Linked DNA regions of Homo sapiens: all the other regions are linked to region 4. Evidence: promoter capture Hi-C in 16 types of primary human blood cells and fetal thymus (Javierre and others, 2016). All regions are on one chromosome and are shown on one strand. Each heading gives the region's core, a stretch centred on a gene start or on the middle of the fragment in contact. The rest is flanking DNA. Distances are from core to core; before and after follow the strand shown.

Region 1 (6,666 bases), core at 4,123-6,622, 200 kb after region 4:
GGACTTCCCAGCCTTCAGAACTGAGAGAAGTAAATTTTTATTTTTTATAAATAAACCAGTCCCAGATATCTGTTATAGCAGCGCAAAAGGACTAAGACAATGCTTTCTTAGACAATGGGTTGCTCAAATGTCGAACTCTGCTGTTTTATGCTATTTCTATAGTTTACTTTTCAAGATTTTACTAATATAAGCTTTACAATTTTATAATGTACTGATACACATTTTTATGGTGTTCTTATTATATTCCATGGAAAATGGCAAAATAAATTTTAAGATTCCAGAAAAAAAAAAAAGAAAGAAAGAAAGAAAAAGGAGTGAAGAAGAGCATGCCCCTCCCTTTTGGGAATTTCTGGAAATTGCATTTCTGCTTACCTTCATTGGCCTCACTTAGCTGCAGGAGCCCCTAGGAAATATAGTTTTTATTCTGAGTGACCATATGCCATATGGAGGAATCCTATTACTCAGGAAGTAGAGGAAACCAGGGATCTCTACGACAAATGCATTTCTCTGCCCTCATCTTAACTCTCTGTCAATAGCATTTGACCACTACTCCTGGAAACTTTTTTTTCTTTTTTAGAGATGGCCTCACTCTGTTGCCCAGGTTGGAGTGCAGTGCCGTGATCATGGCTCACTGCAGCCTTGAGCTCCTGGGCTCAAGTGATCCTCCCACCTCAGCCTTCTGAATAGCTGGGGACGCAGGCATGCGCCACCACGCCTGGCTAATTTTAAAATTTTTTGTAGAGACAGGGGTCTCACTATGTTACCCAGGCCAGTCTCAAACTCCTGGGCTCAAGAAATCCTCCTGCCTTGGCCTCCTAAAGTGCTGGGATTACAGGCCTGAGCCACTGTGCCCAGCTTCTTCTTCTTCTTTTTTTTTTTCCCAGAGACAAGATCTTGCTTGGTTGTCTGAGCTGGAGTGCAGTGGTGTGATCATAGCTCACTGCAGCCTAGAATTCCTTGCCTTAAGCAATCCTACTACCTCAGCTTCCTGAGTAGCTGGGACTACACGTGCATGCCATCGCACCCCGCTAATTTATTTCATTTTATTTTTTAGAGATGGAGGTCTCACTATGTTGCCCAGGCTGGTCTCGAACTCCTGTACTCAGGTGATCCTCCTGCCTTGTTTTCCCAAAGTGCTGGGATATGGGCATGAACCACTGTGCCCAGCCACCCTGACTACAGCACTTTTCAGTTTACAAAGCACTTTCTTTTTTGTTGTTGTTTTTGTTTGTTTTTTGTTTTTGAGATGGAGTCTCGCTCTGTCGCCCAGGCTGGAGTGCAGTGGCACGATCTCGGCTCACTGCAAGCTCCGCCTCCCGGGTTCACGCCATTCTCCTGCGTCAGCCTCCCGAGTAGCTGGGACTACAGGCGCCCGCCACCACGCCCGGCTAATTTTTTGTATTTTTAGTAGAGACGGGGTTTCACCGTGTTAGCCAGGATGGTCTCGATCTCCTGACCTCGTGATCTGCCCGCCCACCTCAGCCTCCCAAAGTGCTGGGATAACAGGTGTGAGCCACTTCGCCTGGCCCCCTACAAAGCGCTTTCAAATACAACGTCTTTCTTGCCGTTTACAGCTACACTGTGATACTGTAGACATCCTCTTCACAGATGAAGAAATAGAGGCTCAGAGAAATCACTAACTCAACGCCACTTGGTTACTAGGTTGCAGATCTTGCACTGTACTTCAACTTGGAAGTCCTGGCGCCTCCACAGTGCTCGTGAAAAGAGGTGGACAGCAGGTGACGCATGTGCAGGGTTTGCCTAAGGCCAGGTAGGAGAGTTGGAAGCTGGCCCTGAAGGCCCCAGAGAGCACCAGCATTAAGGGAGAAAGCAATCCCTTTTTGGTGCAACAATTACCCTCCTTCCCTGCCTCTCTGCCTCCCTGCCTCCCTGCCTCCCTGCCTTCCTACCTTCCTTCCTGCCTTCCTGCCTGCCTTCCTGTCTTCCTGCCTTTCCTCTCTCTCTCTCTCTTTTTTTTTCTTTTTTTTAAGACAAGATCTCATTCTGTTGCCCAGGCTGGAGTGAAGTCGCCCGATCTTGGCTCACTGCAGCCTCTGCCTCCTAGGCTCAAGCAATCCTCCCACCTCAACCTCCAGAGTAGCTGGGACCACAGGCACACGCCACCACGGCCAGCTTATTTTTCGGTATTATTTTTTTTTTGTAGAGACAGAGTTTTGCCATGTTGCCCAGGCTAGTAAAATATTTCTATAGGGGTGATGTGGGGTGCAGGAGATTGTGGAGAATAGAGGGAAGTAAACATTAGACAAGCACCACGAGAGGGAAATGTGCTTGCCAGCTGGCGCGCTAGCAATCCCATCTTAGAAGTAATCAGGGAGTAATCAGATGTTCAGACCAAGAGTCTGCTGAGTGTCTTGTGACTATATCAATGTTTTCTCAGAATCAAAGGGATCTGCTTCTCTTCACAGCCTCGCTCCCTCAGAGGCCAAGCTGAGAAGTTTTGAAGTTTGGCATGATTCTCTTATTCTGCTTTTCCTTGTCAGTAACTACTTTGCTGACTTCTTTCCAATTTCTTTCTCTAAATCCCCACCAATCCTGCACAGACCCTTTGGGGCTGGTGTCTGCCAACATTATGTTGAAGTTGCCGGGGACACACAGATTTCTGATTTTAAGCTGTTTAGGGGTTTGCACCGTCTTAACAGCAAGCAAAGGTGAGTGACTTGTACGTAACTCGCTCAAGTTGACACAGTCGGAGAGTGGAAGCTGGGACTCAAAGCCAGCCTGTGACTTCTTAGACCACACGCTGTCTCCCAGCATTAGTTCTGGAAAAGGAAGAGCCCCCAGGAAACACCATTCCGTCCATCACATCCCTGTGCCCCTTTCATCTTGACGGACCCACCCTAGCACTGGCCCTGGAGACACATGAAAGCACGCCTCAGATGCCTGCTCCTGGGAAGGCCTCGAGCCCCTCCCGGCTTATAATTGGCCCACTTGCTCTTTCTCTTCATCTGGCTGGGGCTTGGATTCCTGGCTGGAGTCCCTGGCTTTGATATTTGCTTTTGCTCTCCTGGTTTGGCAACTCATCACATTCCCCGGGTGGCCTCCATTTTCTGTTAGCCCTCTGCCCTGCTCCCTCCTCTGGGTTTGTGTCCTCCCAGGGCCTCCAGTAGGAATTCTAGGAATGCCTAGAGTCCAGACAGGCCTCATTCATCCCATAAACATGTACTAAGCACCTAGGGTGTGTTGGGCACTGTTCTGTCTGCTGGGGATGCAGCAGTGAATAAAATCAAAGTCCCTGCCCTTAAGGAGCTTATATTCTACTGGGGGGAGTCACATAACAAATGAAGAGTTGTGTCAGGCCTCCTATTCTATTTCTCCCCCTCCCAGCCATACCCAAACTACTCTTGGATCTGATCTGCGTGACAGAGGCAAGGCCACACACACACTAGATCAACAGAGGGAGTGTGAGATGCAGAAGTGAGAGGCGGCAGGTGCCCCAAAGCCTCCTGACACAAGGTCACCGCTGCTGTGTGAAAGAAAATGCTAGAGAAGGCTGGGTGCAATGGCTGACGTCTGTAATCCCAGCATTTTGGAAGGCTGAGGCAGGAGGATTGCTTAAGTCCAGGGGTTTGAGACCAGCCTGGGCAACATAACAAGACCCCTAATCTATAACAAAACAACACTACAGAGAGAGAGGGCGGACCTGGCTGAGGGAGCAGCCCCAGCCTGTGGTCACTGGGACCACGGAAGGAGCCACATGCACAGGTGCTCACTTGTGAACAGCACCTACTTTCTGGGCTTCAGAGCGTGGTCCCCGGAAGAGTGCCAGTGCGTCATCTGGGAGCCCACTGCACGTGCAAACCTCACCCCACCCACTCCAGCCCTTCCCAGTCAAAATCCTCAGGGGGTTCCTGAAGTTTGAGAAACAACAGAGCTAGACTTTTTGACCAGGTACAGATTGATCACCCCAAAGCCATGGTCAATCCATGATAACTCCTCTCCCCCATGGAGATGGAGTAGGGATATGAGTGGGATACAGAGACTTCCTTCCATGGAAAGGTATGCATTTGAGCAGCATATTCATCACCGTTTGTAAAAATTAGTGACTTTTCTCTTTACAAACAAAACACCAATAAAAATGAATGAAAGAAAATTAAATTTGAAAGAGGTGCTTCCTTTTAATTTGACTTGTAATATTTTTAACTGTCAAAATTTCAACAAATAAATCTCTTTCTATACTTTTGTGTTAGTTTATAAGCTACTAAGTCATGGTCAGTTGAGTTTTTAATGCCTGAGGGAAGCTTTTATGCGTGGAGAGGAACAAATTTATTTGTGTATTTTACTTATGTTTCCAGTTTATTGAAGGTGTACATTTTATTGTTATTTTCATTTTTATTTGTTTTACTTTGTTTTGGGGGGACAGAGTCTCGCTCTGTCACCCAAACTGGAGCACAGTGGTATAATCATGGCTCATTGCAGCCTTCAACTCCTGGTCCCATGTGATGCTCCTGCCTCAGCCTCCCAAAATGGTGGGACCACAAGCATGAGCCACTGCACCCAAAGTTGTACATTTTCAAGACTAGTTTTGTTAAGTTCAACTCATACAATTTATTACTTTGCTCATAAATCTAGTATTTTTATGTTACTTTGCTCATAAATCTAGTATTTCTATCACTTGTTCTTTGATTAATGCCTGATTAGCTTATAAATTCTCTAAACATTAAATATTACTTATAAGCTTGATTAATTAAATTAGCTTAGGCTGTTTAAACTATATTAATATTAATATTCAAACATCTAACAAGGCAGATATACAAATCTAACAAAATCTTAGACACTAAGCATGTAGCACTAATAATTTAAACACTATTCACAAAACATAGCCTCAATTTATAGACCCAATTAGATTTATTTAAGCATTTAACCACCAAACTTAATCTACCTAAATACTAAACTAATATCACAAGTTTAATGTCACATGCTTTTACACTTTTCCAACACTTTAAAAAGCAGATTTTAAAATTCTATACTTTAAAGTCATTAGTGGTTAATTTTGTTACGTGAATTTTACCTCAACTAAAAGCAGATAAAACCCAAATCATCCCAGTGTTTGCAGTAGTTATTACCTAAAGCTATTAAAGTAGTTACTCCTTAAAGGTATTACAAGAGTATTAATGTACGTTCGTGTCCATCATCTTCTTTATATTTATTTTTAAGCCTCTATCCAAAGAAAGAAAGCAGAATTAGCCTCACAGTTGGGCTGAAATCAGTTGAAGATGTAGGTCTGAGGTACGGTTACAGATCGGGGTATGAGTTCCAGATTTGGAGCTGCCGTGCTGTTCCAGTATGGAGAGATGCTTGGAGCCTGGGCACTGGGTCTGGGAGTGGGGCCTGGATGTGCCTTCTACAGTCATTTCTCCCAGGCTGGCAATTATCAGTGTGGGTGGCTTCCTTTGGTCAAGTTTTTCCTGCCGAATTAACAAGATTCATAGAACTCTCACTGTTTTGTTTTGTTTTGTTTTTTGTTTTTAAATAACTCAGTGCATCTTTCATCCCTGAGTGTCCTTTAAATCTCATTACCTGATATAAATACATAAGTACAAGAAATTCGGGCTGGGAGCGGTGGCTCACGCCTGTAATCCCAGCACTTTGGGAGGCCAAGGCGGGCGGATCACGAGGTCAGGAGATCGAGACCATCCTGGCTAACACGGTGAAACCCCGTCTCTACTAAAAATACAAAAAATTATCCGGGCGTGGTGGCGGGCGCCTGTAGTCCCAGCTACTCGGGAGGCTGAGGCAGGAGAATGGCGTGAACCTGGGAGGCGGAGCTTGCAGTGAGCCGAGATCGCGCCACTGCACTCCAACTTGGGCGACAGAGCCAGACTCTGTCTCAAAAGAAAAAAAAAAAAGTACAAGAAATTCATAGCTTAATTATGAATCAAAACTTGGCTATGGTATGCACAGTGTTTTAAAAGTGGACACTTCAGAACAATTGGCTTTGGCAAAACAAAAACAACCAAAAACCAGTTGACATTTTCAGGAGCTCACATATACTTTTAGTATAACCCATATCCAGTACCATTATGGACTCAAGCTTTTCACTACATTTTTGTTTTCTTTTTGATAATCAGATGATCACAGTTTTGCCTTTTTTTCCTTTCTTTTCTTTTCTTTTTAGAGACAATGTCACTGCAGCCTTGAACACCTGGGCTCAAGGGATCCTTCCACTTCGGCTTCCCAAGTAGCTGGGACTACAGGTACGCGCCACCACACCCAGCTAATTTTTTTATTTTTTGTAGATGTGGGGTCTCGTTATGTTGTCCAGGCTGGTCTTGAATTCCTGGCCTCCAGTGACTCTCCTGCCTCAGCCTCCCAAAGAGTGGGGATCACAGGCATGAGCCACCGTGCCTGGCTGGCTTTGACTTTTTTTCTTTCTTTTTTTTTTTTTTTTTTTGAGACGGAGTCTTGCACTGTCGCCCAGGCTGGAGTGCAGTGGCGCCATCTCGGCTCACTGCAAGCTCTGCCTCCTGGGTTCACGCCATTCTCCTGCCTCAGCCTCCCGAGTAGCTGGGACTACAGGCGCCCGCCACCACACCCGGCTAATTTTTTTGTACTTTTAGTAGAGATGGGGTTTCACCGTGTTAGCCAGGATGGTTTCGATCTCCTGACCTCGTGATCCGCCCGCCTTGGCCTCCCAAAAGTGCTGGG
Region 2 (6,765 bases), core at 2,938-5,437, 170 kb before region 4:
TATGTTTTAAATAGACCTATGCTTTGTACCCAAAGGCATTCAACTGCCAATCAAAAGTCATAATCAGCATGAGATGGCCAGTGTGGCCTGGCTGAGTTGATAGTACTTCAGCTCCAAAAAATAAACAGGTTTTCTTAGCCTGTGTGGTGTTGTCTTCCACTGGGCTTTCTGAAATAATGAATATGGCCTTACACTTTTCTCAGATTCCCAGGGACCCAGGAGCCCCAGGCTGAGGACCACCATGGGCAGGGGCAGGAGGTGGAAGGATGTGGGGACACTGTGTGTGCTATCTTAAAAGATTTCTAGAAGTCGATTTCACCTATCTGTTCTTGTCGTACTGGTAGGCACGAAACTCTCCTCTTCATCTCTTTCTCCTCCTGTACTCTGTGACCCTAGAGGTGGTCTTTCCCCACCACAGTGTCGCTCTCTCCCGGGAGCACATCCCATCAGAGCAGCTCACCCTGCAGAGCCTCTGCCCTGGCAGGTTGTCATGGCAACAGCCAGACAGGCCTGGTCCCTACCCTCAGGATGCTCAAGAATATTCAGGGACAGAGGGCGTACCGTGTGACTTTTTTTTTTTTTTTTTTGAGACAGAGTTTTGCTCTTGTTGCCCAGGCTGGAGTGCAATGGCACGATCTCGGCTCACCACAACCTCCACCTCCCGGGTTCAAGTGATTCTCCTGCCTCAGCCTCCCAAGTAGCTGGGATTACAGGCATGCACCACCATGCCTGGCTAATTTTGCATTTGTAGTAGAGACTGGGTTACTCCGTGTTGGTCAGGCTGGTCTTGAACTCCCGACCTCAGGTGATCTGCCCGCCTTGGCCTCCCAAAGTCCTGGGATTACAGGCATGAGCCACTGCTCCCAGCCCTGAATCTTTTAATCACAATACAGCACCGGATTTAACAATGGCTCAAAGACAACCTGAGCTAGAGACTGGCAGGGCATTATGAATGGCCCCATTAACTGTGAGAACTAAAACCACAAATACTGGTTTTCCCAACTCTTTGTGAGGTGCACAGCGCTTCTTCACAGACCTCATTGCGCTTGAGCCTCACACCAGCCCCACAGGGCAGATGGATAGACAGCATTCGTTTTCTGGCTTTACAGACATGCAGGCCTCACCCTGCTCTCCATTCTATTGAGGACAAAACCAAGAGCGAGAGAATGCACAGCTGACAGGTGACCAGGCCAGGGCTAAAAGCAGGTTACCACGACTTCACCCAATCCCAGCTTTCAGAAGTTACAGGAGAAAGAGATCACTTCAGACCCAGATGATCCTAAGATGTATTTTGAGATAGTTGAAAGTCATGCCAGGTTGAGATAGGACCGACAGGGGAAAATAATGGCATGGGAATACCAGGCAGGTGGAGCTAGCTGGACACAGCAGCTGCAAAGCAGTGCTTGCTCAGAAGCAGGGGCCTGCCTTGTTTGGGGTCGGCCACTCCTATTAACTCACACTCCTTGTGTGTCCGCAGGCATTGGCAGTGGCAGGCCTGAGCCCCCTCCTCCAGAGAAGCCATTCCCCTGCCTCATTCCCTAGGCCTTTTGCCACCCCACCAGCCACACCTGGCAGCCGAGGCTGGCCCCCACAGCCCGTCCCCACCCTGCGGCTTGAGGGGGTCGAGTCCAGTGAGAAACTCAACAGCAGCTTCCCATCCATCCACTGCGGCTCCTGGGCTGAGACCACCCCCGGTGGCGGGGGCAGCAGCGCCGCCCGGAGAGTCCGGCCCGTCTCCCTCATGGTGCCCAGCCAGGCTGGGGCCCCAGGGAGGCAGTTCCACGGCAGTGCCAGCAGCCTGGTGGAAGCGGTAGGTGACTCGCAGATGGGCAGGGGGGAGAGGCCACGGGCAACAAGGGGACTTGGCATGCGGGGCTGAGAAGGGAGCACCTGGCTCTTGCCAAATTCATTGCAGTCAATATCTGAGCCCGAAAGACCCTCCCTCTCAGGGCTGCAGGAGGGCTCGTGTGCGGAAAGCCATGACTGCACAAGATGCTATGGGCTCTCTTGAGGCTGGGCCCACTGCAGAGGGCGGCAGAAACCACTGAGCAACTTATCCCTTATACTGCAGCTGCTCGACATGCAAATGTGAGCCTGGCTGCCTTTATACACAGACAGGCAAGATCCAAGGTGCTCAGGCCTGACTGCCCGTGAGCATCACCTGGGGAGCTTTGGAAACCCGGGACAGATTAACTGATGATTGTTAAAGCTCTTCGATGATTTTAACGTGTAGCAAGGTTGAGAGCCACTAGCCTAGAACAAGCGAGCTTTCAGTCCCACTGTGCTCTGCCTGGTCAGAGCATCTAGTGCAATCCCGGCACCACATTATTAGGGACCTTTGACACACTGGAACAAACCCAACAGAGGATGACCAGGATGGCAAGGTTCCTAGAAACCATTTCCTAGGAGAACCGTTTCAGGGAATTCGGGAAGAAAACCTGGAGAGGAGGTGACTTTGGAGGGTGCGATACACCTCTCACACCTGCAACGGGTGGGATGGGGAAAGGGTGGCAGGCTCAGCCCACCAGCGGACAGATTTCAGCTCACATGGGGAAGACCTTCCCAAATGAGCTCTTCCAAGATGAGAGGGGCTTGCCTGAAAGGTAGTGAGCCCCCCATCATCAGACATAGCCAAGCAGAGACTGTGCTCATCCGGGCGTCAGGCTGTGGTGCAGGAGGTGGGGCGTTAAACCAGGTGGCTTCCAAGGTTTACCTCTCAAAGTCTGGTATTCCTGTGGCCTCGATCATCCTGCATTCATTTCACAGACCTTCCCTGAGCGCCTACCATGTGCAGGCCCTGTTCTAGGTACAGGGACACAGCTGAGAAACAGAGCTTCTGCTCTCATGAGCTCACATCATGGTGAGGAGAGACAGATAATAAACACATACATATATAACACATCAGGAAGGTCAGGAGTGCCAAAGAAAAACTAAGCAGGGCAAGGAGAGAATGAGTGGCGTGGGCAAGGAGCAAGACAAACAGATGCCTGAAAGGAGCGAGTGCCAGGCTGCACTCAGCTTCCCCCGACCCGCTGGCTCAGGAGCCGATTTTCCCATAGCCAGGCACTAAGCAGCCGGTAGGGAGGACAGAGAAGCTTAAGGGTCACCTGCTGGCCCTTCCCAGCAGAAGCAAGGCAGGGGCATGCGCCGTGTTTGCACAGATACCTCACCCCTGGAAAGGCAGCAGCAGGCAATGGGCAGTGGGCCTGTCTCAGCAGTTTCACCAGGGAGAATGGTTTCTCTGAAAGAATAGTATAAAGGTTCAGTGGGTGTCAGAAAGGAGAGAGGCAGGCTGGGATCTGCTGATACAGCATCAGGGCAACCCCCCGGCCCCTCTGAGAGCCAAACCTTCTCTGGTTTTTGTTTTGGTTGTTTTTTGAGACAGGGTCTCGCTCTGTCACCCAGGCTGGAGTGTAGTGGTACAATCACAGCTCAGTGCAGCCTGGCGCTGCTGGGGTCAAATGATCCTCCCACCTCAGTCTCTGGCCTTGCTAAGATCACAGGTGTGCATCACCACACCCAGCTAATTATTCTTAAATTTTTTGTAGAGACGAAGTTTCCCTGTGTTGCCTGGGCCTGGTCTCGAACTCCTGGGCTCAAGCAGTCCTTCTGCCTGGGCTTCCCAAAGTGCTGGGTGACAGGTGTGAGCCACCGTGCTGGGCCATAAGCAAGTCTTCATATATTTGATGACAGTGTTTGACCACCCCAGCCAAAACTTCTCTGGCCTGCACATCCCTAATTCTGGCAGATGCTCCATCTCCACTTGTTCCCCATGGGTGCCCCTCCCAACACACACACGTACACGTGCACACACGCACACTTCCCCAAGTGACCTACCAGATACCCCCTCGCTCTAGCCCTCAAGGGAAGAGCTGGGCTCCAGGAGTAATGTTCCTTTGGTTCTTCATGGCTCCCACCCCGCTCCTTCAGGTCTTGATTTCAGAAGGACTGGGGCAGTTTGCTCAAGATCCCAAGTTCATCGAGGTCACCACCCAGGAGCTGGCCGACGCCTGCGACATGACCATAGAGGAGATGGAGAGCGCGGCCGACAACATCCTCAGCGGGGGCGCCCCACAGAGCCCCAATGGCGCCCTCTTACCCTTTGTGAACTGCAGGGACGCGGGGCAGGACCGAGCCGGGGGCGAAGAGGACGCGGGCTGTGTGCGCGCGCGGGGTCGACCGAGTGAGGAGGAGCTCCAGGACAGCAGGGTCTACGTCAGCAGCCTGTAGTGGGCGCTGCCAGATGCGGGCTTTTTTTTATTTGTTTCAATGTTCCTAATGGGTTCGTTTCAGAAGTGCCTCACTGTTCTCGTGACCTGGAGTTAACCGGAACAGCGTCTTCATTCATTTCTGTTGGGACCAGACGCGGAGCCTGGGTGCGCGAGCCGCCCTCCGGGAGGAAGGCGCCCGGCTGCGTCTGCAGAGGCGGGGAGAGGAGGCGGCGAGGGTCCCGGGGCGCGAGGAAGGCGCCTGCCCTCTCCCAGCTCGCAGGCCCCGGGCCCGGCCGCGCCTCCGCGGGGAGAGCACCCCGGCTTCCCGCGCGCCCTCACCAAAAGGACCCTACAGCAAACGGGTGTCTTTCGACTCTGCTTGTAGAAACCATTTGCACATATTCTGTACGAGCCTCGCTGTCTCCCTAGAGCCAGGGCCCTGCGGATTTGGAGAAGGGAGCGGGGCAGGACTTCCAGGAGGACCCCAACCCGGCCCGGAGAGGGAGGAGGAGGCCTCCAGGGGCGCGGAGCTCTGGGGATGGGCGTCGGGCCGGCAGTGGTGCGGCTCACTCCGTCCCTGCCCACCTGCGACGGGATCCCCCGACCGGCACGGGCCACGCCGAGCTCCCGGCCAGCCGCCGGCCCGCAGGCAGCGCGAGGGAGGAGCTGCGCCGCCGGCTCCGCCCAACCAGGTGGTGCTGAGCTTCCGCTGAGCGCTCTTTTGTTTTGTGGTTTGACACTTTTCTTGACAGCATGTTGCAGTTTCTTTTCGGTTTTGGTTTTTTTTAAATGTTTTATTTTGCTTTCCCAGCGGGAGGGGAGGAAGAAGAGTGTTTACAAAGTCCTGTAGCCCCCTCACCTTTCTGTTTTCACTTTTGCCAATGTACATCGGGTTTGGTTTTCTTGTATTATTTAAACGGTTGTGGTTTCCTTTTTCCACGGAGGTTCAATAGAAGCCGCTGCAGGAGAGTTTTACCAACCATTGTGTATGCCCAATAATTTGTTATCATTTCCTTAGGTAGTAACCTATTTTTGTTCTGGTTTGGTTCGGTTATCTAATGGAAAGGTAACTGGCAATGCACTTGATGTGGTCTTGCACATGTGGGTGATAGAGTTGGGTTCCTTTTTATGCTGGGTGTACAGGTGGGTTTGGGAGAGAGGAGCATGCGCGAGAGAGTCTCCGAGTGTGTGCGACGCGTGTGTGTGTGGTGGGTTGTCTGTGTGCATATGTCCTGCCCGTGTATATGCACCCACACCATGTGCCCGTGCACACCAGTGACTACGCAGTCCCCCCTTTCTGGTTTAGCTGTGGGAAGATCTGAATCTGGGGCCGTTTGAAAGCAAAAACAAACCACTGTCTCTGCTTCTGAAACGGGAATCAGTAACTCTTTGCATTTTCTGTCCCACAAGATATGCAAAAACAATGCAATAATATTCATTTAAAAATACAATTGTGAGTTGTGTTGGCATTAAAACTGTATTTTAAAAAAAGACAGAAATTTAAGGGAAAAACACAAGAAGGCATTTTGCTTCAATATATTCCGTGTAATGTTTTATTGCATTGATAATGTTTCTGTTGAAGAAACCGTTATACTTGAATTCAGGTCAGTTTCAGTATTTTTCAAATATTTTTTTAAAACTGAATTGCAATTGTGCCAAGCGAATATAATGAATTGAATTAAGTTGGTTTTCGGATTCACTTCTTGTATATTTTGCTGCATGTAAAGTAAATCATTTTGTATTTGGAGTGTGACAAGCTTTACCTTTGAACTCAAGTGCTTTTCTATATGTGGTTGGGGGAAAGGGAACAAGTTTTCTTTAGTTTGCACAATGAGCAAAGGTATCACCAGTGTAGTCATTATTCTGCTCTCCACAAACAGGTTTGGACATTACTGTTTTGCATATCTTGTGTTTGCTTACATTTCCCTCAATTTTTCCAAAATCGTTTGCTGGGTATGTTTGTACCGCCTCTTGCTGTGAGAGACCAGGACCTATTTTATTCCAGTCTTCACTCTGTCCACTCTGCTCTGGTCATCTGATTTGGTACTTCTCCAAGAACAGCCCTTCACTGTGAGGTGCAGGGAGGCGTTCTGATGAGCCCTCAGTCACTGGGCCGTCATCCGCATCCCCCATGGAAGAGGTAGCTGGCTTTCCCTTCCCTTCCACCACACGGAATTTTCTCTTTGGCTTCCTTAGGAAAGTGTACACTAACCGGGAGGATAAAATTAAAGTCAGGCTGCTTGGAGGGAGGGGCATCCTCACTTCCGGATTCTTGTTGCTCTACCCAACAAGGACAGCAGGGGCTCGAGAAAGGAACTGGTGAAACCCTGATCCATCTGAAAGTCAACTCTGCGTGCTCCTTTCTCCATCCCTTCCTCACTCTGGAGCAGCCTTTCCTTCAGGCTTGCCCTAATGTTTGGGCTGCCGGGGAGGGGGCCAGGACAAGGGAAGAGGCATCCGGAGCTCACAGTGGGGGTGGGAACAGATTTTTGTGGGGGCATCTCTAATGCTCACTTATATCTCCCTAGAACATCACTCTTTTGGTGCTGTGTCC
Region 3 (7,167 bases), core at 3,818-6,317, 170 kb after region 4:
GCTAATTTTTTGTATTTTTTTAGTAGAGACGGGGTTTCACCGTGTTAGCCAGGATGGTCTCGATCTCCTGACCTCGTGATCTGCCCGCCTCAGCCTCCCAAAGTAATGTTCACATTTTTTGACAATGTAGATTGAACACCAAAGAGCCAAGAACGGGCTGGGTGTGGTGGTTCATCCCTGTGATCCCAGCACTTTGGGAGCCCAACGTGGGCAGATTACTTGAGTTCAAGACCAGCCTGGGCAACATGATGAAACCCCATCTATACAAAAAGTAGCTGGGTGTGGTGGTGTGTGCCTGTGGTCTCAGCTACTCAGGAGGCTGAAGTAGGAGGATTGCTTGAGCCTGGGAGGCAGAGGTTGCAGTGAGCCAAAATCGCACCATTGCATTCCAGCCGGGTGACAGAGCAAGACCCTGCCTCAAAACAAAAAAACAAAAAACAAAACAAAAGTACAAAGAGTCAAGAAGGGTATTATGATTACATTTTTACCTCTTGTACAACTTTTTTTTCCTGCAAATAAATGGCTCTTGCATATTTTTTAATAAGCCTATTCTTAAAATTTTACAAATTGCTCCATCAGAACCACCATATAAAATTAAAATTTTTTTCCCCCAAATATTCAAAACTGTTAGATAATTTATCAATTTCTCCTTTCTTCTGGAGATCTTTCTCCTGGCTGCCTCTGTTCTGCTCCAGTTTGAACGTGTTATTCTTTTTTTTTTTTTTTGAGACAGAGTCTTACTCTGTCGCCCAGGCTAGAGTGTAGTGGCGCGATCTCGGCTCACTACAACCTGTACCTCCCTGGTTCAAGCAATTCCCCTGCCTCAGCCTCCCGAGTAGCTGGGATTACAGGCACCCACCATCATGGCTGGCTAATTTTTGTCTTTTTGTAGAGACAAGGTTTCACCGTGTTGGCCAGCCTGGTCTTGAACTCCTGACCTCAGGCGATCTGCCCACCTCAGCCTCCCAGTGCTGGGATTACAGGTGTGAGCCACTGCGCCCGGCCTGAGCATGTTATTCTCTAGGCTTGCCCTACAGTTGTCATCCTGAGCCTCCCCTATATTGATACAATTTCCTAGCTCTTGCATTTCTCTCTTTATTGGTATAACCCCTTCATTTTGTGGGAACACATCCTCTAGTACCTTCTAAGAAAAGATGCATGGTACATAAATGACCTTGCTTCTTTGAAATGTCATTATTTTTATTATATCCTTATACTTGACTGATTGGTATTGGTAGTCTGGATAAAGAATCTAGATCATACATCATTTTCCCTAGAAAATGATGACTTTTTTTTTTTTGAGACAGGGTCTTGTTTCGAGATGGAGTTTCGCTCTGTTGCCTAGGCTGGAGTGCAGTGGCGCAATCTTGGCTTATTGCAACCTCCACCTCCCAGGTTCAAGCAATTCTCATGCCTCACCCTTGCAGGTAGCTGGGATTACAGTCGTGTGCCACCAGGCCTGGCTAATTTTTGTATTTTTAAGAGAGATGGGATTTTTCAGTGTTGGCCAGGCTGGTCTTGAACTCCTGGTCTCAAGTGATCCTCCTGCCTCGGCCTTCCAAATTGCTGGGATTACAGGTATGAGCTATCGTGCCTGGCCTAGAAATGATTTTCGAGGATCATTCTTTAGTGCATTTGTCATTATCTTCTGACATAAATAGTCTGATAGCATTCTAATTCCCTATCCTTTATTATGTAACTTTTTTTTTTCCTCTGGAAGTTGTAATGTTTCTTCTTTCTCCCTAATGGCCAGTTTCACATTGGTGAGCTTTGGGATATGTGTTGTTTTACTTCCCCGTCTTGAGCCAGGTACTTGGTAGGCACTTTTAACTGTGAGATGAGTCTTTCAGTTTTAGGAAATGTACTCGTATTATTTCTTTGATAATTTATTTCCCTCTGTTTTCTGTTTTCTTTTCCAGGAATCTCTGTTATGATGTTGGAACCCTCTATGATGTTTACCATTTCTTTATTTTCTTGGACTTATCCTCTACGATTTTTACCATTTATTTTCAATCTTGGTCTGTTTTCTTAGCGATTTCCTTAATTTTGTATTCTGACTCTTTTCTGAATTAGTTAAGGTTGTGTCCAAGTGCATATCACACAAACCCCAAAGAAACAGTGGCATAAATAGTTTTTCTTTCACATCAAGGAAGTCTGGAGGTAAAGACTGTCCAGTGCTGGCCCAGTGCTCCTGACATCATGAGGGACCTGGCTTCTCTCTATCTGCTGTCCTCAGTGTATGACTTCTGTACTCAGGGTCATGACTGCTGGAGTTCCAGCCACTGTAGCCATCTTCCAACCATCAAAAGAAGCCAGTTTAGCTCCCTGTAAGGGGCCTGCTGGGAAGCCCCATAATTAGTTGTGTGGCTGCATCTTGCCGTAAGGAACCCGGGAAAGGTACTTTTTTAGTTGGGTAAGTTGCTGTTCTGAATAAAATCAGAGCTGTAATACTGTAGAAGAAGCTGCATACATCCTTTTATGGATGTATCTTAGTTCAGTTGATGACATTTTGTTTTTTCTGGGTAGTTTATAAAGTGTGCATCCTACAGTTAAGGGTGAATTAGATGAGTGGAATACAGCAGCATCTCTGCCACACCTTCTGTTGAATATTTAATTTCGGCTCTGACATTTTAATTTTCCAGAGCTCCTTCTTGTTCTGTGATTGCATCAAGATGTTTGATGGATGTAGTTTTTCTCCTCTTTTTCTTAAAGGTATGAAGTAAGTGTTACTTCTTAAGTTTTCTCCTGCTCCTAACCCTCCCCCAACCCACGCCCAGACTAAGTTTTGCTGTGTTGCCCAGGTTGGAGTGCAGTGGTGTGATCTCGGCTCACTGCAACCTCCGCCTCCCTATTCAAGCAATTCTCCTGCCTCAGCCTCCCAAGTAGCTGGGATTACAGGTGCCCGCTACCACGCTTGGCTAATTTTTGTATTTTTAGTAGAGAGAGGGGTTTCGCTATGTTGGCCAGGCTGGTCTCGAACTCCTGACCTCAAGTGATAGATTTACAGGCGTGAGCCACCACACCCAGCCTCCTGCTCCTTTCTTTGTCTTTGTTTCTTTTTAATTCCGTTTTTCTGTTTGTTTTGGTCCTTGTCTTTCCAGCTGGAGGGTTTTCTTTGGTGTCTTTAGTTCTTAGCTGCCTGTCTGTATTTTTTTAACAGCTTTCTTGCAATGTAATTAACTTACCTTACAGTTCACCTACTTAAAACATACAGGCCACGCACAGTGGCTCACATCTTAATCCCAGCAGTTTGGGAGGCCGAAGCAGACAGATTGCTTGAGCTCAGGAGTTTGAGACCAGCCTGGGCACATGACAAAAACCTGTCTCCACAAAAATAATACAAAAATTAGTCAGGCGTGATGGCATGTGCCAGTAACCCCTACACTTTGGGAGGACGAGGCGGGTGGATTGCTTGAGTCCATGAGTTGGGGACCAGCTTGGCCAACATGGCAAAACCCCATCTCTCCTAAAAATACCAAAATTAGCCAGGCATGGTGGTGCGTGCCTGTAATCCAAGCTACTCAGGTGGCTGAGATGGGAAGATCGCTTGAGCCTGGGAGGCAGAGGTTGTAGTAAGCTGAGATCACACCACTGCACTGCAGCCTGGGTGACAGAGCAAGATCCCATCTCAAAAAATAAAGTATACAATTCCGAGTTTTTAAGTATATTCACAAAGTTGTGCAACCATCACCACAATCAATTTTAGAACATTTTCATCATCCCGAAAATAAGCCCTGTTCCCTTTAGCTGTCACTCCCCACTCCTACCCCCCAGCCCTGTGCAATAATCTACTTTCTGTCTTTGAAGCTTTGCCTATTCTGGACATTTTGTATAAAAGGGTTTGTGGAGGATGTGGTCTTTTGTGACTGGCTTCTTGAACTTGGCATAGTGTTTTCAAGGTTCAACCATGTTGTAGCACGTACGTTCCTTTTTATGGCCAAATGTACGGAGAGTCCACATTGTTTATCCATTCATCAGTTCATGGGCATTTGGGTTGTCTCCTCTTGGCTGTTAGGAGTAGTGCTACTGTGAACATTACGTACCAGTGTTTGTGTGGACGTTCATTTTCATTTCCATATGCTTATGTCTGGAATTACTGGGTCATATGGCAACTCTCTTTCACTTTCTGAGGCACTCCCAAGAGTCTTCCGAAGTGGCTGCACCGTTTTCTGTTCCCACCTGCAGGGTATGAGGGTATGAGGATCCTATTTTCTCCACATCCTCACCAACACTTGATATTCTCTGATTGTAGCCATCCTAGCAAATGTGAAGTGGTATCTCATTGTGGTTTTTATCTGCATTTCCCTGATGACTGATGATGGTAAGCATCTTTTCATGTGCTTACTGGCCATTCGTATATCTTCTTTGTAGAAATGCCAATTCAGAAATTTAGGTCCATTGCCCTTTTTTTTTTGAGACAGTCTTTCTCTGTCACCTAGGCTGGAGTACAGCGGCGTAATTTTGGCTCACTGCAACCTCTGCCTCCCAGGTTCAACTGATTCTCGTACCTCAGCCTTCTGAGTAGCTGGAATTACAGGCACGCACCACCATGCCCAGCTCATTTTTGTATTTTTGGTAAAGGCGGGGTTTTACCATGTTGTCCAGGCTGGTCTTGAACTCCTGAGCTCAAGCGATTCGCCTGCCTCAACCTCCCAAAGTGCTGGGATTACACGTGTGAGCCGCTGTCCCCAACCCCATTGCCCATTTTTATAATAAATTGGGTTATTTTTTATTATTGAATTATGAGTTCTTAGTTCTGGATGAAAGTTCCTTATCAGTTATATGATTTGTAATTATTATTTCCCATTCTGTTGAATGTCTTTTCACATTCTTTTTTCTTTTTTTCTTCAGAGACAGGGTCTTGCTGTGTCTTCCAGGCTGGAGTGCACTGGCATGATTATTGCTCACTGCAACCTTGAACTTGGGCTCAAGTGATCCTCCCGCCTCAACTTCTTGAGTAGCTGGGACTAGAGGCATGCACTACTACGCCTGGCCAATTTTTTTTTTTTTTTTTTTTTTGAGATGAAGTCTCACTCTGTCACCCAGGCCGGAGTGCAGTGGCATGATCTCGGCTCACTGCAAGCTCCGCCTCCCGGGTTCACGCCATTCTTGTGCCTCAGCCTCCCAGGTAGCTGGGACTTCAGGCGCCCGCCACCACGCCCAGCTAATTTTTTTGTATTTTTAGTAGAGACGGGGTTTCACTGTGTTAGCCAGGATGGTCTCGATCTCCTGACCTCGTGATCCACCAGCCTCGGCCTCCCAAAGTGCTGGGATTACAGGCGTGAGCCACCGCGCCCGGCCCAAGTTTTTATTTTTATTTAAATTTTTTATAGAGGGTGTCACTATGTTGCCCAGGCTGGTCTTGAACTCCTGGCCTCAAGTGATCCTCCTGCCTCAGCCTTCCAAAGTGCTGGGATTACAGGTGTGAGCCACTGTGCCTGGCCCCTTTTCACATTCCTAGTAGTGTCCTTTGATGCACAAACGTTTCTAGTGTTGATGATGTCCAGTTTATCAAGTTTTCCTTTTGTTATTTGTTCTGGTTATATTTAGTAGTGACTGGGAGCTCTTCGTGCAAGGTAGGACTTGTCACCTGGTGGGTTTCGCTTTAGGGTGATTGGGCTTGGGGAGCTAGCTGTTTTATTGGGGAAATCAATAAATATGTGTGTTTACTGGACTTTTTTTTCCCCCTGAGGTGATTTAGTTTCTCCAGAGACGATTCATCTAATTTCCCTGGAAGGGACATACTTGGTCACAAGTGTTCTGGTAGTGGGATAAAGGGTCGGGGGTAGGGGCCCTGACCATTTCTGATGCTGGCTTTCACTTAACTCTCCTGTTCTTACTCCCCCTCTTCCCTCTCTTTTGAATAAGCCCTGTGTCCCTGAGACCTGTTGCCCTCCTGTTTAATTTCTGAAGATGGTCACCCTTTGGTCCTCTTTAAAAAGTTTTTTTGTTTGTTGGTGTGTTTTTTAATTTTTAATTTCATAGAGACAGGGTCTTGCTATGTTGCCCAGACTGGTTTTAAACTCCTGGGCTTAAGCCATTCTCCTGCCTCAGCCTCCCAAAGTAATGGGATTACGGGCAGGAGCCACCATACCCGGCTGACCCTTTGATCTTCTACCGATGCATGGGAGGGGTGGGCCTGGGGGCTGGACTGTCCAGTGTACAGACTTTTTGTCAGTTCCTGGGGACAAATCCTGTTCCCTCCAGCTCCGAGCCACGCAGCTCAGCTTCTTATCTGTCACCCCTGAAGATATTGGTAGGTTGTGACTCTTTTTGCTTTCTCTACCCCGTGGAATCCAGTGTGGTCCTAATCAGCTTTGAGTCTCCAAAGCTTGCCCAGCTCTCTTGTCAGCTGGTCTCTTTGTTTTCTTTATCTTTGTGGTGCTGCATATTGTTTAAAGTTACTTGCTGTTGTCCTTCTAGCTGGGTCTCTGGAAGGGGAAAAAATAAACTGGGGTAGTCAGTCTCCCACCTTTAGCCAGGTGTCCAGGATGATGGGGTGACCTGTGTGCCACTTCGAAGGGGTCGGCAGTCGCTGTTTGGAGTGCTGGGCTGAGAAGGCTCTAGCAGGGAGGAGTGCTGGGTGGACGGTCATGGCCACGTGCGTAGCCAGGGAAATATTTGTTAGCCCTTCTCCTTAAGCGATGAGGAGTCATTTAAGGTTTTCGAACAGGGCAGGACGTGGCCAGGGTTGTGCTTAGTTGGTTAACTCTGGCACCCAGACTGGAAGCAGGTGTGAGACTCCTGCAGTGGAGACCAGGCAAGACGCATGTGCCTCCTGAGGACCTCGGCCGAGAGGCTGGCTTCAGGGTGTGGCGTGGGAGGCAGGATGCTGTCCACTTTTTCTCAGGAGGGGCTTAAATCATCTCCCAGTCTCCCGTCCAGCCCCGGTTGTGGGAATTGGAACCTGTACAGCTGGCAGTGGCGCTTCCCAACCCTGCTGTGAGTCTGAGGGGGCCCCCAGCCCCCTGGAGAAGCCTTCACCCTTGCTTGAGCACTCACCGCCCCCGGCCTGTCCAGGCTCAGCCCTGACTCAGCGGAAGGAGCTTAGGCGAGCTGATCTGTGGCTCTTTCCCGGCATGGCTCAGGACCCTGGGGATACAGTTGGGGTCAGAGCGGAGACCCAGTTGGCAGTGGCAGGAAGCACTCATGGGAACACTGCCTTGG
Region 4 (7,056 bases), core at 2,396-4,895:
TCCTGAGTAGCTGGGATTACAGGCGCCTGCCACCACGCCCAGCTAATTTTTGTATTTTTAGTAGAGACGGGGTTTCACCATGTTGGCCAGGCTGGTCTCGAACTCCTGACCTCAGGCGATCTGCCTGCCTTGGCCTCCCAAAGTGCTGGGATTACAGGCGTGAGCCACCAGGCCCGGCCTGTTTTTTTTGTTGTTGTTGTTGTTTTTGTTTTTGTTTTTGTTTTTTTTTCAGATTAAAAATCTTCACAGCCACTCCAACTCCCCAGTGCTTTGGTCCTGCCCTTGGGATTGGAATTTGAGACATTCCTTTTCATTGCCTTCCCCCTTTCTTGTTACTCTTGCATGCGTAGTGCCTGGGCTGGACACAGTTGGGAAGCATCCGTGAGTTCCCAGGGTGGCCGGGAGGGGGAGCTGCGGGGTTCACAGCGGCTCCTCTCAACGTTCCTGGCTCCGCTCCCGACTTCTCAGCCCTGCCTGGAGGGGCTCAGCCACTGCTTTTAGCTGTCTGCTGGCTTTCCACCCTTCCAGCCTGAACCCTGACTTCCCCATGAGGCCTTCCTGTGGCGGGGACACTCCAGGTCGCTGCACCCCTTCTCTCCTGAATTTCTGTAACGACATCTAACTTTTATTTAATTAATTTATTTATTTAGAGATGGAGTTTCTCTCTTGTTGCCCCGGCTGGAGTGCAATGGCACCATCTTGGCTCACTGCAACCTCCGCCTCCCAGGTTCAAGTGATTCTCCTGCCTCAGTCTCCTGAGTAGCTGGGATTGCAGGCACCCATCACCACACCCGGCTAATTTTGTATTTTTAGTAGAGATGGGCTTTCTCCATGTTGGTCAGGCTGGTCTGGAACTCCCTACCTCAGGTGATCCGGCCGCCTCGGCCTCCTAAAGTTCTGGGATTACAGGCGTGAGCCACCACGCCCTGCCATAACATCTAACTTTTGTTCAGTTCTTCCACATATTCACTAGCTCAATTTATCCTCCCACAGTGAGGTCGGTACCTGAGGCTCCCCCCTTCATCGGTGAGGGAGCTGAGGCTGGAGAAGCTGGGCACCTCACCATGGTGATGGGGTTGGAACTGTACTCCAGGCCTTCGGGCTACAGCTTTCACTCCAGTTCTTTACATTAATAACTGACTTCCTTACAACACCCCCTGTCTCGCACTCTGGGCCCTTTGCATGTGTAGCCTTTTTTTGATAGCTATCTTTGCAAAGCTCCTTGAGGGCAGGCACTGAGTCACACTTCTCTGTGTCCCCAGTGCCTACCAGGTGTCACCTGCATAGCTGTCCCCCAGATTTTAGTGAAACTCCCTGCCTCCACTCGCTGTTCCTCCCTTGTCTCCACCTCGTCCTTCCAGCTACACTCAGAAAAGAGTTTGGTTTTCAGATGGCCAGAGCGGGGAAGGACAGAGTCCCGGTTAGAAACAGGAACCTGAGAGAGGGAGGGGTCACCTGGGCAGGGCAGGCTGGGTGGGCTCCCTGAGGAGGCACCGTCTTACTTCTTGAAGCTCGCTGGCGGCTGGATGTTGCCCTGGGCATCGAGTGGGGGTGCTCTTGCCTCACTCCTCAACTTGAGCTTCTCCACCTCCTTCAACTCCTTCACTGTCCTGAAAATCACCTGCTTCTTCCTTTTCATGTCCACAAACGTGGGATAACAGTGGATGAAGGTCAGGAAGCTGTTTTGCCCCATCCAGGAGGGAGGGGGGATGGGGTGCTCCGTGGGGGGGCATCTGTGGGCATTGGAGTCGGTCAGCCAGCGCCAGACATTGCTATCGTAGGGCCTGTCAGGCTGGGTGGGGAAGGTGGCAGGCAGACGGCACACATCGAGCCACGTGTGAAAGCCCCAGGTGTGCTGGGCGCCACCCTTCCAAGGGTGGATGAGCCGCTGACGCACCTTGGACTTCATATCTGTGCAGGGCGGCAGCTTCAGAGCCAGCTGGTGGTAGGCTTGCCGGGTGAAGCCAGGGAACTCCCAGGACTCGCTGGGGAGGAAGAACTCACGCTGAGCCCACGTTTGGGAGGGTGGGAGGGACTCGCTGGCCTGGACCATCTAGGGAGAGACAAAAGGGAGCCTGGGGAAGGTTGTGCAGACAGGGGTGCAGAAAGGTGGGTGAGGCACTCCGCTCTCCTTCCCAGGCACGACCTCTGCCAGCCCAGGATTCTCATGAGGACGCAGAAGTCCTGGCAGGGCCGCATCTCCATCCCTCTCCTTCCCGGCGGAAGTTATGGCTGCTGCGTATCATCTTCACAGTCACTCATCTTTTGATCTCTTGCCATTGACCATATTTTGGCTTTGACTTCCCACCCTCTGTACTCAGCTTTCACTCTTTACCTTCACCTCCCTCCTCCGTTCTGGCATCCCCACATTCCCACCCAGGAACTGGTGCTCCTTAGAGGGCACATCAGGCCTCAGGAAATCATGAAGGGAAATGCTCCCTACCATGCCAAGGGGGGCAGCCCACCTTCACTTGCTCCTGGTCTTGGCGGTATACCAGGAAAGTCCTCCAGAAAATAGGGCCAGGGGTTTTCCCATCCCAGACTCCTCTCAATACTCATTTGTCCGTCACTGACGCTTTCCTCCCACTCCTCATTAAAACGCTAGTATAGAAAGCATCTAGAATGGCAGCTCCTTCCCCTTTCTGCACCCTGCCCCCCATTAAATAAACAGCAGCAAGTACATATTGATGCTGTGCTAAATACTTACATGGATCTTATTGAACCCCCACAACTCTATGAGCAAGTATTGCTATCGTCCCCATCTCAAAGATGCAGAAAGCAACACACAGTAAGGGTAGGTGACTCACACAGGGTGCTGGTGCCTGAGTGACAGCTGGGACTTAAGCCCTCTGTCTGTGCTCTTGCTTGGCATACCATGCTGGGTGAAATGAAATGGCCTTACTTAGCACAGTGCCTGACTGCAACAAAAATGTGCCTCTTTTAAAATGCTTCGCCCTCCTATCCATCCCCAGGGATGTTTTCTTTTTTTAGATGGAGTTTCACTCTTGTTACCCAGGCTGGAGGTGCAATGGTGCAATCTCGGCTCACTGCAACCTCCACCTCCCGGGTTCAAGTGATTCTCCTGCCTCAGCCTCCTGAGTAGCTGGGATTACAGGCGCGTGCCACCATGCCTGGCTAATTTGGTATTTTTAGTAGAGACGGTTTCATCATGTTGGCCAAGCTGGTCTCAAACTCCTAACCTCAGGTGAACCGTTCCCCTCGACCTCCCGAAGTGCTGGGATTGCAGGCGTGAGCCACTGTGCCTGGCCCCCAGGACTTTTCTGATTGCAAAAACCCACCTGTTTCTTGAGCTTGGGCCCCTAAGTCATTTCTACAGGATCACCCCAGTGGGTGGGGCTGGGAGATGTGGCACTAGCCAGGCATCTCCTCTCTGTTCTGAGCTCTGGGTTCCTAGTGTCATAGGATGAAAAGGGGAAGACAGCAGAAAATGTATGGGCCAGGCAGTCTGCTGCCCAGAAGAAAGCCTGGCCCACTATAAGGGACAGCCTGTAGCCCAGTGGGGTACAAAAAGGTAGGCGGCAGAGATGGGCCACCCCCTACCTGCAGGAAAGGTTCTTCCATATGAGATGGGTGACTGGGCCCTCTGAGTGATCTTTGCCGGTTACTGGCCATTCTTCTGGGCCTCAGAGCCAGGAGGGGCGGCTTTGTGGGGAAGCCCTTTCTGGCACCATTGTTTACTCCTGGGGTTGCTATGGTGATGCTGCTTGAGTGGTGATGCAGAGAAGAGGCCCTCACCTGTCCCTGGAGCCTCTTGTGACCCTTGGGCCCCTGGCTACTTTTCAGGTTAGACAGGCAGGGGATAGCACTTTCTTCAAGTTCTGACTGCAAAAAACTGTAACAGGAGCTGCTGCCGGGCAGAAGAAAAGCAGGGCAGGCTGGCTCCCAGGCCTCAGGGTGGGGATGGCAGTGGGAATGAAGCACCTGTAACTGGGCCCTTCCTGCCCTAATGTTCAGGGGGCCCTACCCCTCGTGAGCTTGTCTTATTAAGAACCCTCAAAAGGCCTAAGTTAACCAGCAGGTCCAAAGGTCCCAAGGAACAAGGTCAGAGACGCCAGGGAAAAGAGGTGAGCTGTGCAGGACTAGCACTGGGAAAACTGGCAATTTGTGTTGTCAAGTGTGTGCCTGTGCAAGTGCTCCAACTGCTGCTTTGGGTGAACTTCAGGCCTTGCCTCTTCCCTATCACCATCGTCTCCATCAACACCCTCTTTCTTTTCCAGCCTCTCCTGGTGCCTTAGGAATCAGACGCCAATAAACCACAGAGCCCAGCATGTCCACCTTCGCTTTTATTGAGTAGTTAGTGTTCTCAAGCTGGCTCACACCCATGCGGTCAGCTGGGGCCTAGGGTGGCTCTTTGCAAAGCTGAGGGGCAAGCTAAGGAAGCCAGGCAGGTCAGGGGCCCTTTCGGCCTTCTCAAGCCTCCACCTGAGTTCTCGTCAATGCCAGTCTCCCTGGTATGATTGGGGACATTATCAGAGAAACATCTAATAGCGCACATCTGGGCACCCACACTCTGCTTCAGTTGCATCCATCCTCCCACCCCAAATTCAACTCCTGACCCAATACAAAAGACTTTTTTAACCAGGATTTCTTCTTGCAGGAAAGCTGACTTGGAAACACGGGGAGGTGGCAGGGAGGGGCAAAAAGGACTCTGGCAAGCAGATCCACTTGTCTGGGTCCCTGCAGTGAAGAACCCAAGATCCAGGTACCTCAGCCTGGAAGAAACCGTGCACTGCAGGTCTTCCCTTCTATCAAAACTAAAAGCAAGGAACAGAAGTCAATTGAAACCCCAGGTCATCCTACCCACCTTCTGGCAGTCTCTGGATAATGATCTAAGGAAATAAGCTTACATTTATAATTAGAGGATAATTTGGAGAATTTATACTATTTACACGGACCACCCTGCAAAGATCAGGGAAGGTAAGAGACTGCTGGGCAGAGAATGGAAACAGGCTGGGGGGTTCCTAATCTCTTTTCACCATTGCCTTTGTTGTTCCCACCCTTCAGCTCCTGGCAGGGACAGCAGAGGAATCAGATACTCTTGGGGAACACAAGGTCCCAGCAGTGGCTAGGGTGTGACTGCTACTTTTGCATAATCAGGCAGCAGGGAGCTATGAGGAGCAGAACAGTCCCTGCCTGCTGTCCTCACTCAGAGGCTTGGGGTGCACTGAGCCTTGGAGTGCCCGGGATGGTGGACAGCTTGAGCACAGGGGCAAGGGCAGGGCTCTACTGTAGCTCAGGAATAAACTGGGACCAGTTGATGTTGTCAGGGCCCAGTGGGTCCTCGTCCAGGCCAGGAAAGCTGATGTCCAGCAGGATCTTGCTGAGGCTGTCATTCATTGTGTCCAGGACCAGGCCTTCTGTCAGAGAACGATTGGCTGCAAGGCCAGAAACCTGTGGCTCCGGGGAGCCTGGCTTGGGGACGTCTATATCTGAGGGAGAAGAGTTGCCAAAGGGGACGGAGATGAGGTCTAAGGGTTCTGAACTGAGGAGCCTTTGCGGTGATTCAAGGGGGGGAGCACTTTGCAAGGGAGTGGTGCTGAGATCCATCAGCCCCAGGGGGTCAGGCAAGGGGTCAGAGGCACCCTGGGAGGTTTGTACTGGGCTGAAATCCAGTCCCCCTACTTTGGCTGGGGGCGTGAGCCTCCAGGATTCAGGGGTTCTGGGGAGGACAGATTTGCTCGGGGTGGAGGAGATGGGCAGCGTTTCCTTAATGGGTGTCTTAAAAGGTCCTCCCACTTCCTGGGAGTAGCTGAGCTGGGAGGCAGGGTCAGAGGAGTCTGCTGGGAACGGGAGCTCTGCGGCCCAGCGGGAAGTACTGGGCCCCTCTGAGAAGAGCAGCTCCGGCTCATCCACACAGGGAGGCAGTAGATGCTGTTTTCTCCGAGACCGGCTCCTCTCCCTCCTCTCCCTGTGTTGAATCACAAGCATTTCCGAGACACACCGGGTTGGGGACCTAAGCCCACTGTAGGACTTCTTGGGTCTTGGGGTGGGAGATTGGGACGAATCCTCCCAGGAGTGAGATGATTCCTCTTTGAAAGATGGGGCCGGGGAGGGCCACTCTTCCAAGGGAGGGCTCTCCACTTTGATGGGTCTCGCTAAGTGTGGCATTTCCTCCCCAGGCTGGATTTCTTCCTCCTTGATAGTCTGAACTGGAAGCAAAGGAGAAAACCCTTCTCCAAACAGGAGTTTCTCCTCTTTCCCTGGTCCTGCAGAAGAAAGAGGAGCTATCCCCTCCTCAGCTAGCAGCACCTGAAAGGGAAACAGAGATAAGGTGAACCAACGGTCACCAGACAGGACGCACAAAAATATCACATACGGGTTCTGATCCTCTTTGTGTCGTTTTGAAGTCTTAAAATCTATTAAATATGAGAATACGATGTATGTTGAAGTTGGTAGTTCAATTCTGGGGGTAAAAGATGCGGGTATGTAGTATGTAGTGGCATAATTATAATAGCATTCATCCGAGAGGAAATAAAATTGCATGCTTGTCTTACACTGTATACAAAGATTTAATGCATGAAAATAAGAACCTTAGGCTGCTCTGATGGTAGCGGGTAGTGACATTATTGTCACTAAAGTTGGTACACAACCCCCAACTGCTAAATTTGACTGGCTTTAAAAAAAAAATGAAAACCTTAAAATCATACAAATCCTGAAAGAGAATCTAGGAGACTACATATACAATCTGAGGGTGCGGGTGACCTTCTTAACCAAGACTGGAAACCCAGAAACTGTAAAAGAGAAGAGAGACATTTGACTACATAAAACTTTAAAATTTTACTGTGGCAAGAGATACCATAAACAAAGTTAAGAAACAACAAACAATGCCTGTAATCCCAGCACTGCAAGACACTGAGGCCAGTTTGAGACCAGCCTGAGCAACATAGTGAGATCCCATCTCTACAAAAAAATTTTTTTTAATTAGCTGGATGTGGTGGCATGCACCTGTAGTTCCAGCTACAGGTGGGAGGCTGAGGTGGGAAGATCACTTGAGCCTGGGAGGTCAAGGATGTAGTGAGCCTTCATTACACCACT

What was found. Contacts are between HindIII fragments. The CHiCAGO score rates a contact against its expected background, and 5 or more counts as called.
Region 1: a contact is called between a fragment that was not itself captured here and the fragment with the promoter of TEX52 in region 4, in 2 of 17 cell types (megakaryocytes and endothelial precursors). The highest score is 6.3, in megakaryocytes.
Region 2: the fragment with the promoter of CACNA1C-AS1 here is called in contact with the fragment with the promoter of TEX52 in region 4 in 3 of 17 cell types (total CD4 T cells, naive CD8 T cells and total CD8 T cells); the score reaches 5.4 in total CD4 T cells.
Region 3: a fragment that was not itself captured here is called in contact with the fragment with the promoter of TEX52 in region 4 in 5 of 17 cell types (megakaryocytes, M2 macrophages, endothelial precursors and 2 more); the score reaches 10.6 in megakaryocytes.

What each region holds. Positions count from the first base shown.
Region 1 is chr12:3,052,841-3,059,506 of GRCh38, forward strand. No RefSeq gene overlaps it. Among named protein-coding and RNA genes, the nearest start is that of TSPAN9, 21 kb to the right of the region's middle. The HindIII fragment of the contact is 1,356 bases long and covers 4,695-6,050 here.
Region 2 is chr12:2,686,970-2,693,734 of GRCh38, forward strand. CACNA1C-AS1 (CACNA1C antisense RNA 1) reads right to left here and starts at 4,188. Exons shown (of 4, transcript NR_045725.1): 1 at 4,100-4,188; 2 at 3,838-4,010; 3 at 3,171-3,241. It overlaps CACNA1C (calcium voltage-gated channel subunit alpha1 C), which reads left to right. Exons shown (of 47, transcript NM_000719.7): 46 at 1,478-1,810; 47 at 3,931-6,765. The coding sequence ends at 4,230. RefSeq lists a silencer at 4,648-4,917. The HindIII fragment of the contact is 2,873 bases long and covers 3,094-5,966 here.
Region 3 is chr12:3,024,237-3,031,403 of GRCh38, forward strand. The region is part of intron 10 of TEAD4 (TEA domain transcription factor 4); the gene reads left to right. Among named protein-coding and RNA genes, the nearest start is that of TSPAN9, 50 kb to the right of the region's middle. The HindIII fragment of the contact is 2,524 bases long and covers 3,806-6,329 here.
Region 4 is chr12:2,853,394-2,860,449 of GRCh38, forward strand. It overlaps TEX52 (testis expressed 52), which reads right to left and starts at 3,646. Exons shown (of 3, transcript NM_001365174.2): 1 at 3,562-3,646; 2 at 1,503-2,053. The coding sequence starts at 3,633. FOXM1 (forkhead box M1) reads right to left here. Exons shown (of 9, transcript NM_021953.4): 9 at 4,287-6,270. The coding sequence ends at 5,245. It also overlaps a transcript of ITFG2 not described here. The HindIII fragment of the contact is 21,263 bases long and covers 1-4,861 here.